3 separate regions of the Homo sapiens genome follow, and all the other regions are linked to region 2. The links are contacts of gene promoters, found by promoter capture Hi-C in blood cells and fetal thymus (Javierre and others, 2016). All regions are on one chromosome and are shown on one strand. The core of a region is centred on a gene start or on the middle of the fragment in contact, and the rest is flanking DNA. Distances in the headings are between cores, read along the strand shown.

The links. The method cuts DNA at HindIII sites, captures the fragments that hold promoters and counts their contacts. A CHiCAGO score of 5 or more calls a contact.
Region 1: the fragment with the promoter of ZNF467 here is called in contact with the fragment with the promoter of REPIN1 in region 2 in 1 of 17 cell types (fetal thymus); the score reaches 6.2 in fetal thymus.
Region 3: the fragment with the promoter of KRABD3 here is called in contact with the fragment with the promoter of REPIN1 in region 2 in 1 of 17 cell types (total B cells); the score reaches 5.5 in total B cells.

Annotation. Positions count from the first base shown.
Region 1 is chr7:149,771,263-149,775,122 of GRCh38, reverse strand. ZNF467 (zinc finger protein 467) reads left to right here and starts at 1,535. Exons shown (of 5, transcript NM_207336.3): 1 at 1,535-2,015. RefSeq lists silencers at 1,913-2,092, 3,029-3,178, 3,189-3,508, 3,519-3,608. The HindIII fragment of the contact is 21,836 bases long and covers 1-3,860 here.
Region 2 is chr7:150,367,121-150,370,953 of GRCh38, reverse strand. It overlaps REPIN1 (replication initiator 1), which reads right to left and starts at 2,132. Exons shown (of 3, transcript NM_001099695.2): 1 at 2,013-2,132; 2 at 1,086-1,283. The coding sequence starts at 1,242. It overlaps REPIN1-AS1 (REPIN1 antisense RNA 1), which reads left to right. Exons shown (of 4, transcript NR_183429.1): 3 at 98-249. RefSeq lists enhancers at 144-948, 949-1,754, 1,755-2,559, 2,599-2,658 and silencers at 1,219-1,368, 1,879-2,348. The HindIII fragment of the contact is 10,402 bases long and covers 1-3,833 here.
Region 3 is chr7:149,712,642-149,716,643 of GRCh38, reverse strand. It overlaps KRABD3 (KRAB domain containing 3), which reads right to left and starts at 1,693. Exons shown (of 17, transcript NM_001290187.2): 1 at 1,578-1,693. The coding sequence starts at 1,589. RefSeq lists enhancers at 771-1,403, 2,041-2,540 and silencers at 1,606-2,045, 2,872-3,166. The HindIII fragment of the contact is 2,289 bases long and covers 289-2,577 here.

The sequences.
Region 1 (3,860 bases), core at 286-2,785, 600 kb after region 2:
TGGGGCAGAGCTAAGCCGGATGAAATAATCCGAGAATCCGGCTGGGAGGGGCAGTGACAGGCTCCACAGGGGAATCCGGGGTCCACCCTGGTCCCAGCAGAGCTCTGAGCACACCCGGACACCCGGGCTGGAATGCAGCCTGGCTCCGACTCCACACCCCTCGGTCTCCTAAACCTGATATCCCTCCGAGTATCCTGTAGAGTCATTCCACCTAGGGGAGGAAGGGGGCTGCTGTTAACCAGAGCTGGGCCGGGCTCTCCTTCTCCTGGGTTCACCATTGGTCCCAGGGCCAAAAAAGGGCCCAGAGTGAGTCTCTCAGGGGGTCACGGATGACTGGGATCAACTCCTGCTCTGGAGTCCTCAGAAAGAGCCACACGCACACCCAGACACCCCCCTTTCCTGTTTTACACACATGCACACTCTCACTGTAAGTCTCACAACACCGGCACAGGTGCTCGGCCACACCCCAGCACGCACAGTGACACATGCTACTCCAGGTGCTCCCTTCATCCTGGAGGCAGAGGAGCCTTCACAGCTGAGCCCGAGTGATGGGCGCTCTTCCAGGCACTCATCCTTGTGGTGGGCTGTGGTAGCAGGAGCTCAAGGGCCATTCACACCCTCCCCTTCCCAGCCTCACTCAGCTCTGGATTCAAACCGGGGCTGATCAGGCAGCACTGGGATTGGGAAGAGACCCGAGTTGCAGTCACCCTTTCCCGTAAAGGGGCAGAAGGGAGGAAGCTGGAACCCAGGGGTTTGGAGAAAGTTCATGGAGAGGAGACCGGGAACTAACAGTCCAGACTTCAGCATCTCCGGAGCTTTCAGGAGTGGGCGCAGCGGGAACAAGGCCAAGGAGAAACCTCGTAACCTGGGCAGGGAGGGCGAGTGGAGTCCCCTGAGGAGCTGGGGCTGAGGGCTGAGGGCTGAGGGCTGCCCTCCACATCTAACTCCAGGTGGTGTCCGGGCCAGCAGGCCCCCCAGCAATCGTCTCCCGCCCATAGAGCCCTCCCCTCTCTGCAGCCCCCTCCCAGACCCTCCCCCGGACCCCGCCCTCAGAATCTCCGCCCAGCCCCGTCCCAGCCTTGCCCCCTGGAGCTCCCGACCTGGCCCGGCCTTCTCCCAGGGGACCTGGCTTAAAGTCCTCTCCCCAGTTTCTACTTCGAAGGACCCGTTCTCGCAAGCACAGGGGCCCAGCCCTCTCTCCCGCCTGCCCCCACGGCTCCCGCGGCTGGTTTCGAATCGGGTCCTCGGGACTCCAGGCGAGGGGCTGCGGGTCTGGGTGGATCGGGGTGGAATCCGGGTGGAGAATGGGGGCGGGGCCGGAGTTTCCCAGACCGACCCCCCGGGCCGTCCTCCCGCGGGAGCGCGGCGCTGCACACCCGGCTGGCACCGGCGACTTAGAGACGGCAGCGCACGACTCGCTGGCTCCCCCCCGACACGGCCCCTCCTCGTTCCCCCAACTCCTCCCCGCCACCCCCCCACCCGTTCGCGCTCCACCTTTCCCCGGCTCCTCCCTCCGCGGCCGCGAGCACCCTCCCTTGGCACCCTTCCCCGCAGCCCGAGTGCCTGTCCTCCCCAGCCTCCTCGCCCTCCTCCACCCCCTCTCCCATCACCCTCCCCTCCCCTCCCCTCCCCTCCCCCGTCCTGAGCTCCCACTTCCACACCTACTCCAGGCTCGGAGCCTTAGGACCATCACCTGCCCACCTAAGCCCACGGTGCTCCCTCCTGGGACCCCACTCCTGAAACCCCCTGCCCCTGCCTCCCCCAGCCCGGTGCGCCGGGGCTCTCCGCCCGCTCCCTCGGTCCCTCCTCCCTTGCAGGCGCCGTTTCCCGGCTTCGACTCCCCGCGCGTCTATCCCTCTCCTCCCCGCGAAGTTTCGGGGCTGTCAGTCTGTCAGTCTTTCAGGCCGTCAGCACCCGAGCTGCAGGCGGCGAGCGCCATTGTGAGCAGAGCCGGCGGGGCAGGAGGCCCGGGCGCCTGGGTCCCCGCGGCGCGGGCGGAGCGGCCGGCCAGCCAGGTAAGGGCCGGGGAGGCTCCTCTGCAGGCGGCCCCGCCCGCGTCTCCCTCAGCGCCGCGGTTGGGTCACGGCCGGCTCCGCGCAGGTGACAGCCCCGGGGGTAGGGGCGCGGACGGCGGGCGTGGGGGAGGGGCGCGGGTCCGGGGAGGTCGGGGGCTGGGGGGAAGGGAGGGCAAGGCCGGCGCGGGCAGGGTGAGGGCTGTGGGGGTAGAGGAGACCGGGGGGGCTGGAGGGAAGGGCGGGGGCTGGGAGGGGGTCGGGCGGGAGGCAGGTGGGAAGGGGGACGACGGGCCCCGAGGGGAGGAGAGAGGGAGTGTGGGAGGGGGCCGAGGGGGAAGGGGAGGAAGAAGCGGGCGCTGGGGACCGGGCCACTCGGTAGGGGCGGGAGAGGAGGGCGCTGACAGGTGAGCCCCGGAGCTGGGGAGGGGGCCGGGACCTGGAATGAAGTCGGCGATCGGAGCTGCTTGGGAGGGCGGCGGGGCAGGGAGGTGGAGCTGAGGGTCCCGTCGGGAGGAAAACTTGGGAGGGGTGAGAAGTCCGAGGGGAGCAGAAATAGGGAGGGGGCGCCGCGGCGGAGAAGAGAGGCGCGGAGGGGTGTTCGGAGGGGAGACGGAGTGGGGAGGGCAGGGCCCGCGGGAAGGTCCCGAGAGAGCGGGTCAGCCCTAGACCCCCAGGCTTGGGGGCCGGAGGACCCGGGAGCTGGGAAGCAGCCTGGGAGGGGGGAGGGGAAGAGCGGTTCTGGGGACTGGGGACGGGGAGGGAAGCGAAGCTGGAGCCTGCTGGGGAGACAGAGGGGGAAGGGAGGCGGGGGCCTCGGAGGGGAAGGAGAGCTGCAGAAGGGAGGGGGGAGGGGGAGGGCGGTGGGGAGACGTGGGGGAGGGCTGGAAAGGGGGAGGGGAAGGGAACCGAGGTGAGGCGAGGAAAGGAGAAGGAAGGGAAACCGGGGTGGGGGAGGAGAGGAGGGAGGGGAGAGGAGAACTGGGTTGGGGAAAAGAGCTGAGAGGAGGAGGGCGGGGGTTGGCGAGGAAGGAAAAGAGGAGGGGGAAAGGAAGGGAGAGGGTGTGCAGCCGGGGAGGGAGATGGAGCGGGGGAGAACCGGGAGGGTAGGGAAAGGCAGCCTGGAGTCTGAGAGGGGGAGGGGAGCGCTGCCGCCGAGGCGGCCCGGAGCGTAGGGTCAGGGGAGGCGGTGGCAGCGGAGGGCCGACCCGGACGGGGCCTCGAGGGGTTGGCCCTGCCGGGCTCGGGCGGGCGGAGCCTGAGGGGCGGGGCCGGGGGCGGAGCCGAGGCGCCGGCCCGATTCGCAGGGGAGAGAGGGCGGAAGGCAGAGGGAGCGGGAGGGGCGGGGCAGAGGGAAGGCTGCCGGGGAGATGGGGGAGGGGAGTCTGCTGGGGGAGGGGCGGGGGAGCCGCGGAAGGCGGAGCAGGGAAGGGGCAGCAGGGGCGGTGTCCGGGCCTTGGGCAGCCCGGCACGGGTGAGAGGTGGTTTTGTGGTAGGGGTTTAGGAAGAGGCGATCATTTTCTAGCTACAAGAGGATCCTCTCGAGGACCTCCCCAAGCAGTACCCCTAAAGTGACACTCACTCCCGCCCCTGGGCTGGCTCCTATTTCACCAGCTCGGGCAGTGACAGCTGGAGGACCTGGGAGATGAAGTTTCCCACTCCCCACCCTGGGCTCCCACCCTCAAGCCTCTCCCCAGAGAATCGAATCTTGCCTGCACTTTCCCAGGCAAGGACGCTGGGGCGTGGAGTTGCGGTGCTGATGGGCCGGGGTTGGCGGTGACAGACCTGCCAGGTGAGGGGGTGGCGCGGCTGGTTTCCAGAGCTGACAGAAATCGTTTCAAGGCCTTC
Region 2 (3,833 bases), core at 883-3,382:
ACCCCAGTGTCAGACAGGGAGTAAATGCTCCAGTGCTGAATGCACAAACATTCCTGCCACAGGACTCACCAGAAAATGTGGCCACTGCTCCCTACAGTGCCTTATGCTGCCCTCTCCCTGTGTCTGCTGTTTCCTATGCCACATCCGAGCTGCACAGCAACTCTGAGAAGCTGGACAAACAGACACTGAGCTCCCTGTTTAACAGATGAAGCAACTGTGAGACATCAAAGATGACGAGACCTGCCCAAGGTGACACAGTAAGCCAACAGCAGAATCAAGACTAGGGAACAGGTCTTTAAACTCCCAGGCCAGTGTTCTTTCCTCTAAAGCGCCTGGGTTTGCAAAGATCTCAGAGAAAAAGGTGTCTATAGCTTTTCATTCCTAGCCCCACAGGGGAGGCACTTTCAGCATCACTAACTGCAGTCTCCGTAGGAGGCTGGAGGACAAGTGAGAACAGCCCTTCTCGGGGAACAGGAGCAGAGCCCTGGGTGCTACTCCCGGCAGTCTAACGCCAGACCACCGCCTGCCCAGACTGTGCCCCCATTCTGCCCGCCTGCCCTCTTCCACCCACACAAATTAGGACATTGCAGGAAGGAAGGCTCTCCCTGAATCCAAGGAACACCCACAGCCTGCTGCCCTCGGGGCCTGATCACCGGCTCTGCCTCCCTCGGGGTGCTGGAGATTACTGGGGCAATAGAAGGGGAGGGAAGATGAGACTGCAATCTCAGTCCCCTGCCCGGTCCTGCCCCAACCTCGCCAGGGGCTGCCCCATGTTCAGCTCTTCCACAGCTCAGGGGAGCCCAGATTCCTGCACAGGAGCCTCCTCCGCGGAAGGAGGAAGGAAGCAGTTAGGCTCCTAAGGGCCCTTCTGTGCCTGCTCACAAGCTCCAGACACATCCTTCTAAATTCCCTAGAGCGCACTCTCTCTTCTCAGGGAACACAAAGGTCACTCATTCCCAGTGTCAGACTGTGCACAGGGAAGACCCCAGGATATGAGAAAGGGCCATTTCCTTCCGCCGGGATGGGGACGCCCGTGCACCCCTGTTGTGGCGTGGTTTGGGAGCACAGCAAAGGCCAGACTCTACCCTGGAGACTGCAGAGCTGGGGATGAGGCTTTTTCCAGCTCCTCTTGGGGATGTTCCTGGGGATACTTCCGCGGCTGCAGCGCCTGCTTCGGCCCACACTCCGGTAGCCCCCAGGTGTTAGAGAAAACTGCAGTAATAAAGACACCCCTATCCCCATGGCAGAGCTCAGACCTCTGACTGCAGAGAGGCCAGCCTTACCTGTGGGGAGGGAAGAGAAAACAGAAGTGAGGCTCTGAGCTCCTCTAGGGCAGTCAGCTTTGTGTCCTCACCAGCCACAACCCCTCCCCCCACAAAGCCACACGCACCAGCCATAAGCCCCACATCCTGCCTGGCAGAGTGACCTTAATGGACATTGGATTAATAAATGAATGTGCCCCTTCAACAAGGAAGCACACTGCTGTCTTTCGGGGTCACTTTCTTCCCTGGTAAGGTCACGGAACGAATTCTCCATTCTGTGGCCAGAGTCTGGGCTTTCCCTGATGGCCAAAGGCCGGCCTATGGCAGGAACTCTGGAATCCCTGCTGGCTCCCCTTCCCCCAGCCTCCTCCCGACAGGAATTCCAGGCCTATTTCCCATGGGGCTGCGCAGGGCCAGCTGGTGTGACCACGACTCCGTCAGAATCCCCTTCCGCATCGCGGCTGGCCGCGGGTGGCAGAAGCCCCACACCGCCCTTTTGTACTGATGCGTGTCCTCCGTCCACGCTCCCGGGCACACGGGTCCCGTTCTTGCGAGTGAGCCATTTCGGGTCCCACGCACGGCGCAGCTCGCGGAGCCTGTGCGCAGGTGCGCTCCCCCACCCCCGCAGATCCAGCAGCGTCCCCCCCCGCGCACTCACACACGGTCGCGCACACTCACGGTCACGCGCCCCGCAGGTGGAGCGGCCCCCCGCGGGCCCGCGGTGGCCCCGCGCCCCTGCCCCGGCCGTACCTCTGCGGCGGGCTGTGCAGGGACGCGGCGCCCGTCCATGGAGCCCGAAGGCCGGCCTCCGCGGCCCACTCTCGCTCCCCGCCCCGCCGCGGCGACAGCGGCAGGTTCGAGTTCACAACTGCCAGGCCCGTCCCCAACCTCCCCCCGCCGGGTTCCCAGCGCCACGTGACTACAGGAGCTGCCGAGGGTCAGTCGCCGGCTCCCGCGGCCGCGGCCTGGGGGCGGGGAGGGACTGCCGGGGCCGGGGCGCGGGCGCCCCCGCCAAGAGCGGGCCGGGTCACTCAAGCCACTGCCGCGCCAGGGCGGCAGGCCTCGGAGGGTCGGACTCCGTTGCCATGGCGACCACCAGCCCGGGTTTCTCTGGGACTGGCCGGAGCTCAAGTTTCCCGACCCTTTGTCCCTGCGGAGCACGCGCGTCCCCGGGCGACCGCGTGGCTGGCCTATGGTCACCGGGGTGTTCGGCCTTAGCTGCCTTATGAGAGGCTGGGAGCCCGTCGGGAGACTTCAAAGAGGGCTCCGGCAAGCCCCCGGAGCGTCGTTGCCCGGGCCTTTCTCAGGCCGCGCACCCCGGCCGCAGTGCGGACGCTTGCGGCCGCGGCGGTCCCGGGACGGCGGTGGCGCACCTGGAAGGCCCTAGCTTCCGATTTGTTCCAAAGTGGAGCACAAAAAGGCCCGATCCTGCGAACTTTGAAAAGGCCTCTCTTCACTCTTTTCTAGAAATTAAGAAAGAGCAGAAGTTGCTGGGCTTCCTCTGGCTGCGGGCCAAGCGTGGGGCGACGGCCGAGGTGGCCGTTGGCGCACGTGGGGCATTTCGCTTGGAAAGGCTCAGCAGCCTGTGTGGCGTCTGCGGTGGCAGGTGCGAGCCTGTGCCCATGACTCACCCACTAGCAGGTGGCCCTGGCTTTCCAAACTAAACACTTCCTGGGGTTTCCAGGGTAGTACAATTTCATGTACTTTCATGCTTTTCAACACAGGCAATTTTTGAATTGTATAATTAGTCGTAAAAATACTTTTTAAATCTATTGCATAAATAGGAAATAGGGGAACATAAAACTCAGTTTTACCTCGTAGAGTCAATTACATTTAATATTTTGGTATGTTGCCTCCGGTGTTTTCTCTACGTATATCCATGGCATGTCTGGCATAATTGGAATAATGCCTTGCGAAGATGTATTCTGCCTTCTTCACTTAACACGATCTTGTGAATTTTCTTCCATTTTATTAGATATTCTTTTAAACATGATTATTTATGGCTGTATAAAAGGAATATATTTTTTAAATGTTTTCTAAATTATCTTCCAGGAAAACGTATTAGTTTTCCCTGAGAAATGCCCATTTTCCATATACTTGACAACACAGACTTTTTTAAAAAAAAAATTTAGTTTGAAATGGTTATTTCTCATCTTTTGTACTTGCATTTCTTAGAGTACTAGTTAGCTGGATTGTTTTTTCACATGGTTATTTTTTGCCAGTTTTATTTTCTCTTGTGAATTTGTTTATGTCCATTTGCCCACTTTTCTATTTGCCCATTTTAAAAGTTGGGGAGTTGGTTTATTGTTTGGGGGGCACTCATAAAGTACAGGTATTAAAGACTTGTCATGTTTGTTGCAGACGTGTTTCCTCGTACTTGTTAACTTTTTTTTTTTTTTTTTTTGAGACAGGGTTTCACTCTGTCACCAGAGCTGGAGTGCAGTAGCACTATCATGGCTCACTGAAGCCAGGACTTCCTGAGCTCAAGCAATCCTCCCACCTCGGCCTCTGAGTAGCTGGGACTACAGGATCACATCACCACATCCAGCTAATTATTTTATTTTAATGTTT
Region 3 (4,002 bases), core at 444-2,943, 650 kb after region 2:
CAGCCTCAAGACAAACTGTTTTGTGATAAAATTCTTAGAAAATGAGAATGGGAACTGACTGTGGCCAGGGTAGGCGCTTCTGCCAGTGGCCTCCCTCTCCCCAGAAAAAGCAAAGAGTGAGGGTTTTGTGTGTGAGGGAGTGAGCAAGTGTGAGTGTGCAAACACCTGGGCTACAAAACTCATCTTCGGGAGGAGGAAGGCCACCACTGGCTGGCTCTGCCCACACACCACCGGCCTTCCTCCTCGGGCCCCACTTCACCTCCTTCCCCCAACCAATGGAGAAAAGCTTTCTGGGCTGACCCAGGACTCTTGTAACTGGGCAGCCTCCTAGCTCATAGCTGCACACTGGTCCTCCTAACATCACCCTTCCACCGTGTCACTAGCCCAGCACAAAAACTGCAGCTTCAGTGCCTGCTGGACCTGCCCCTCTCTCACAGTCCTTCCCAACCTAGACCTGCTCTCCCAGTGGGCCTCAGGCTCGGGCTCCCTGATCAGACCCTGCCACAGGACCTCTCAACCTGGAGGCTGTGCTCACATTGCCCTGGGCTTCTGGGAACCCTCCCTGCTCCTCTCCACCTTACAGTGACCTACCACTCCCCAAGGTCACTCCTGGCCACCTTCTCCATGAAGCTACGTAGTGTGAGGATATTCCCCTCATCAGATCTGAAAGGTCAATGGCCCAAACTCCTCACTTTACAGAACAGGAAACTGTGGTATGAGGAGGCCTTAGGATGGGGCCATGGGCATGTCTGAACCAGGGTGTCCCTAGGCTACTTAACTGTGCAGCCAGACCTGAAAAGGACACTTGACTGTCCCTGCCCAACAACATCCAATTTGCCTAGCCTCTCCCTTCTCCCCAAATGCTTGGGGGCACTAATGACGCCAAGGGCCTGGCACAGTGTTTGCTCTGCCTAGTCACACGCTGCCCCCCATCCATGGCTGCCTCGGACTGGCCAAAGCTCAGGAGCCACCACGGTTGCAGAACTGGCTCCAGGTGCCCATCCAGAAGAACGTGGAGCAGTTGCTGGTATCAGCACCAGATACCTGATACCTCACTGATATCAGCACCAGAGTTTCCCAGCATCGTCACAGCCCACACACAACCTAGCCCAAACGGTGCCCAGGCTGTCACGGCCTGGGGCTCTCCCTCCAGTTCTCAGATCTAAACGCCTTACCTGCAGGCTTCCCAAGACAAAACTTGGGGTTTGTTCTATCTTTGTTTCTCCCCATTTCCACGTCCCCAGCCCCCGGGATCCAGGATTCCACCAAGAACAGAAGTATGAGATTTACTCACTGCCTCCGAGGCCTTCATGCCCACTCTACCAGGATAACTTGTAACGAAACAAGCCACGCCAAGGGGGTTTCCCCAGGTGGAGACTGGGCCGTGGGTACCGGCGGCGGAGAGCTGGAGAGAGGTTGTCCGAGGACCTGAACTTCCCGGCACGAACCCCTGAGCATCAGGCCTGCCCAGCCTCACCCAGCCGATCCCGAAGTTGCGGGGGGGTCCCAGCTCTTTCTCGCCCTACCGCCTTCGGGGCCGCACTGCGCCGAGGGGTCCGCGCGTCCGCCTGCCTTACCTGGCGCGCCATCCCCGGGCTCAGCCTCCCCGCCACTCCTCGGTTTCCGGCGCGGGCCCTGGCGCGGGCGCACGCGACCCTCGTCGGCGGCGGCCCAGGTCCGCGCAGGAGAAGGCGGGGCCGGGGGCCTGGGCCGAGGGGGAGGGGCGGGGGTGGGCGCGCCCGGGCCCGCCCCCGGCCTCGTTGAGCCCGCCCCGAGCGCCTCGCATCCCTTGGTGGGTGGTGCCGTTTCCGCCCGGAGCCCCCGGCTTCGGCGGCCCGGCCGGCCGGCGCAGACGCGGACTACACTTCCCAGAAGGCGCCGCGGCGCCGGCTCGGAAGCGGGGGGCGGAGACAGGGCGGGGCGGACCTGGCTCGGGCCTCGTCCCCGCCCCCTCCCCTCGTCCCCGCCCCCAGCTGCGGGTAGAGGTTGCGCGCCGAGACCAGCCGGGGCGGCTGTGGGCGTGCAAGCCCGCGGGTACGCGCCGCTTATCACTCATTCATTCCCGCAGCCACCACTCAGCGCGTCCCATGTGCCAGGGGCTGATGGTGGGGATGAAGAGGGACCCATCTTTCCCAGAGGCCGCGGTCGGGGAAACCCGACCTGGAGTGAAAGGGGTCGAGGGTCCGGCCGGGCGTGGGTGGGACAGAGCAGCTGCCAGGCCCCCGTACATCCTCACGTCTTTCGCCCGCGCCCCCGCTCGCCGCAGCCATGACCTACCTTCGTGTCACATTTTGCGTGCCTGTTTGCTGGGGTGGTAACCCCAGTTGTTCCTGGCACATAGTAGGCCTCAAATAAACGTGTGATGCGGGAAGGAAGCGCGGCCCACTCTCCTCTGCCTCCCCCTGCGCTTCACGAGTTCGAAGGCCTGGTCTGGGCGGGCGCTGCGAGAGCGCTCCGGGGGTGCGGGCGAGGCGCAGCGAGCCTGGTTTTCCTGTCTGGAGAAGGACCCCGTCATTTTTATAGAAGGCTGCTGGAAGGGGGCCTGCGGGGCTAAGCCTGCTGTGCCAGACAGAAGCTTGGAGGGGAAGGGGAGGCTGTGGTCCCACGCAGAGGAGACTCTGCTCTGAGTTTGGAAGCCCCGTCCAGACCTTGCGGCCCAGACAGCGCTCTGCCTGGGCAATATCGGAGGGAAGGAAAGGGAATTCCTCGCCCAGTCGCCCGGGGCTGGCCCTTGCAGCCGCGCCGGCCATGATCACGGACTCGGGTACGATGCCGACAACCCCTCGTCCCGGCCTCCGAGGAAAGGCGCACGCCCACTCGGGCAAAGCCCCCTCGGTCATACCCGAGACACCTTAGACACAGGACCGGCGTGTGCGCAGCCTGCTGAACAAGGATTTGAAGATATCACAAGGCCCCACCTCGCGGAAAGGGAAAACTTAAAAGTCCAACTTTTCAAGAGCCCTACAGGCCACAGCCCTCAGGGTAAGTCGCCTCCTGGGCTTTAGGCCGGGTCCCACCTCCGTGCCGAGGTGAGGCGGGCTCCTTACAGTAATGTGTTCCTGCTCCCAGCTCCTCTCCACCGCCCACCCTCCGGCCCGGGATCCCTAAACGTTAAAACCCCCTAAATCAGGGGTCCCCAACCTTTTGGGCCAGAGCCCGGTTTTGTGGAAGGGAATTTTTGCATGGACTGGGAGGGGGGTTGTTTTGGGATGAAACTGTTCCAACTCAGATCACCAGGCATTAGATTCTCCTAAGGAGCCCGCAACCTGGATCCCGCATTCACAACAGGGTTCTGGCTCCTATGAGAATCCAGCACCTGCAGATCTGACAGGAGGCAGAGCTCAGGGGTAATGCGAGCAAGGGGGAGTGGCTGTAACTACAGATAAAGCTTTCCCTGGCTTGCCCGCAGCTCACCTCCTGCTGCACTGCCCAGCTCCTAACAGGCCAGGACTGGTACTGGTCCATAGCCCAGGGACTGGGGACCCCTGCCTTAAACTTAAACACCTGTAGAAAGAAATCTCTATCCAAGTAAGATGCACCTTTGTTTTAAGCTGTGCAGATTCTTGGCACCTCTTTGACTCAAACGTCCACTTCCTGGCTAGGCTTCCTGCCCCATTTGTGGACCATCAGTCGCTAAAAGCAGTTCACCAACATGAAATTTGCTGCATGGCCAATTATTTAAATTATGGAGACACTTCCTGGCACCCCTATCCCCCAAATTTTAGTTGCGCCTTTGACCCTGTAGACCTGTATTTACCTCAGCCCGTGTGTGTGCGTTAAAAAATAGTTGTGAAGACCTGTCCTGAACCAGGTTTATTGGATGGCTCTGGACACAGACAAAGGCAGGAGTGGAGCTGAAACACATCTTTAAAAATTCCTTGGCTGGGGCCAGGCACGGTGGCTCACACCTGTAATCCCAGCACTTTGGGAGGCCAAGGCTGGTGAATTGCTTGGGCCTGGGAGTTCCAAACCAGCCTAGGCAACATGATGAAACCCCATCTC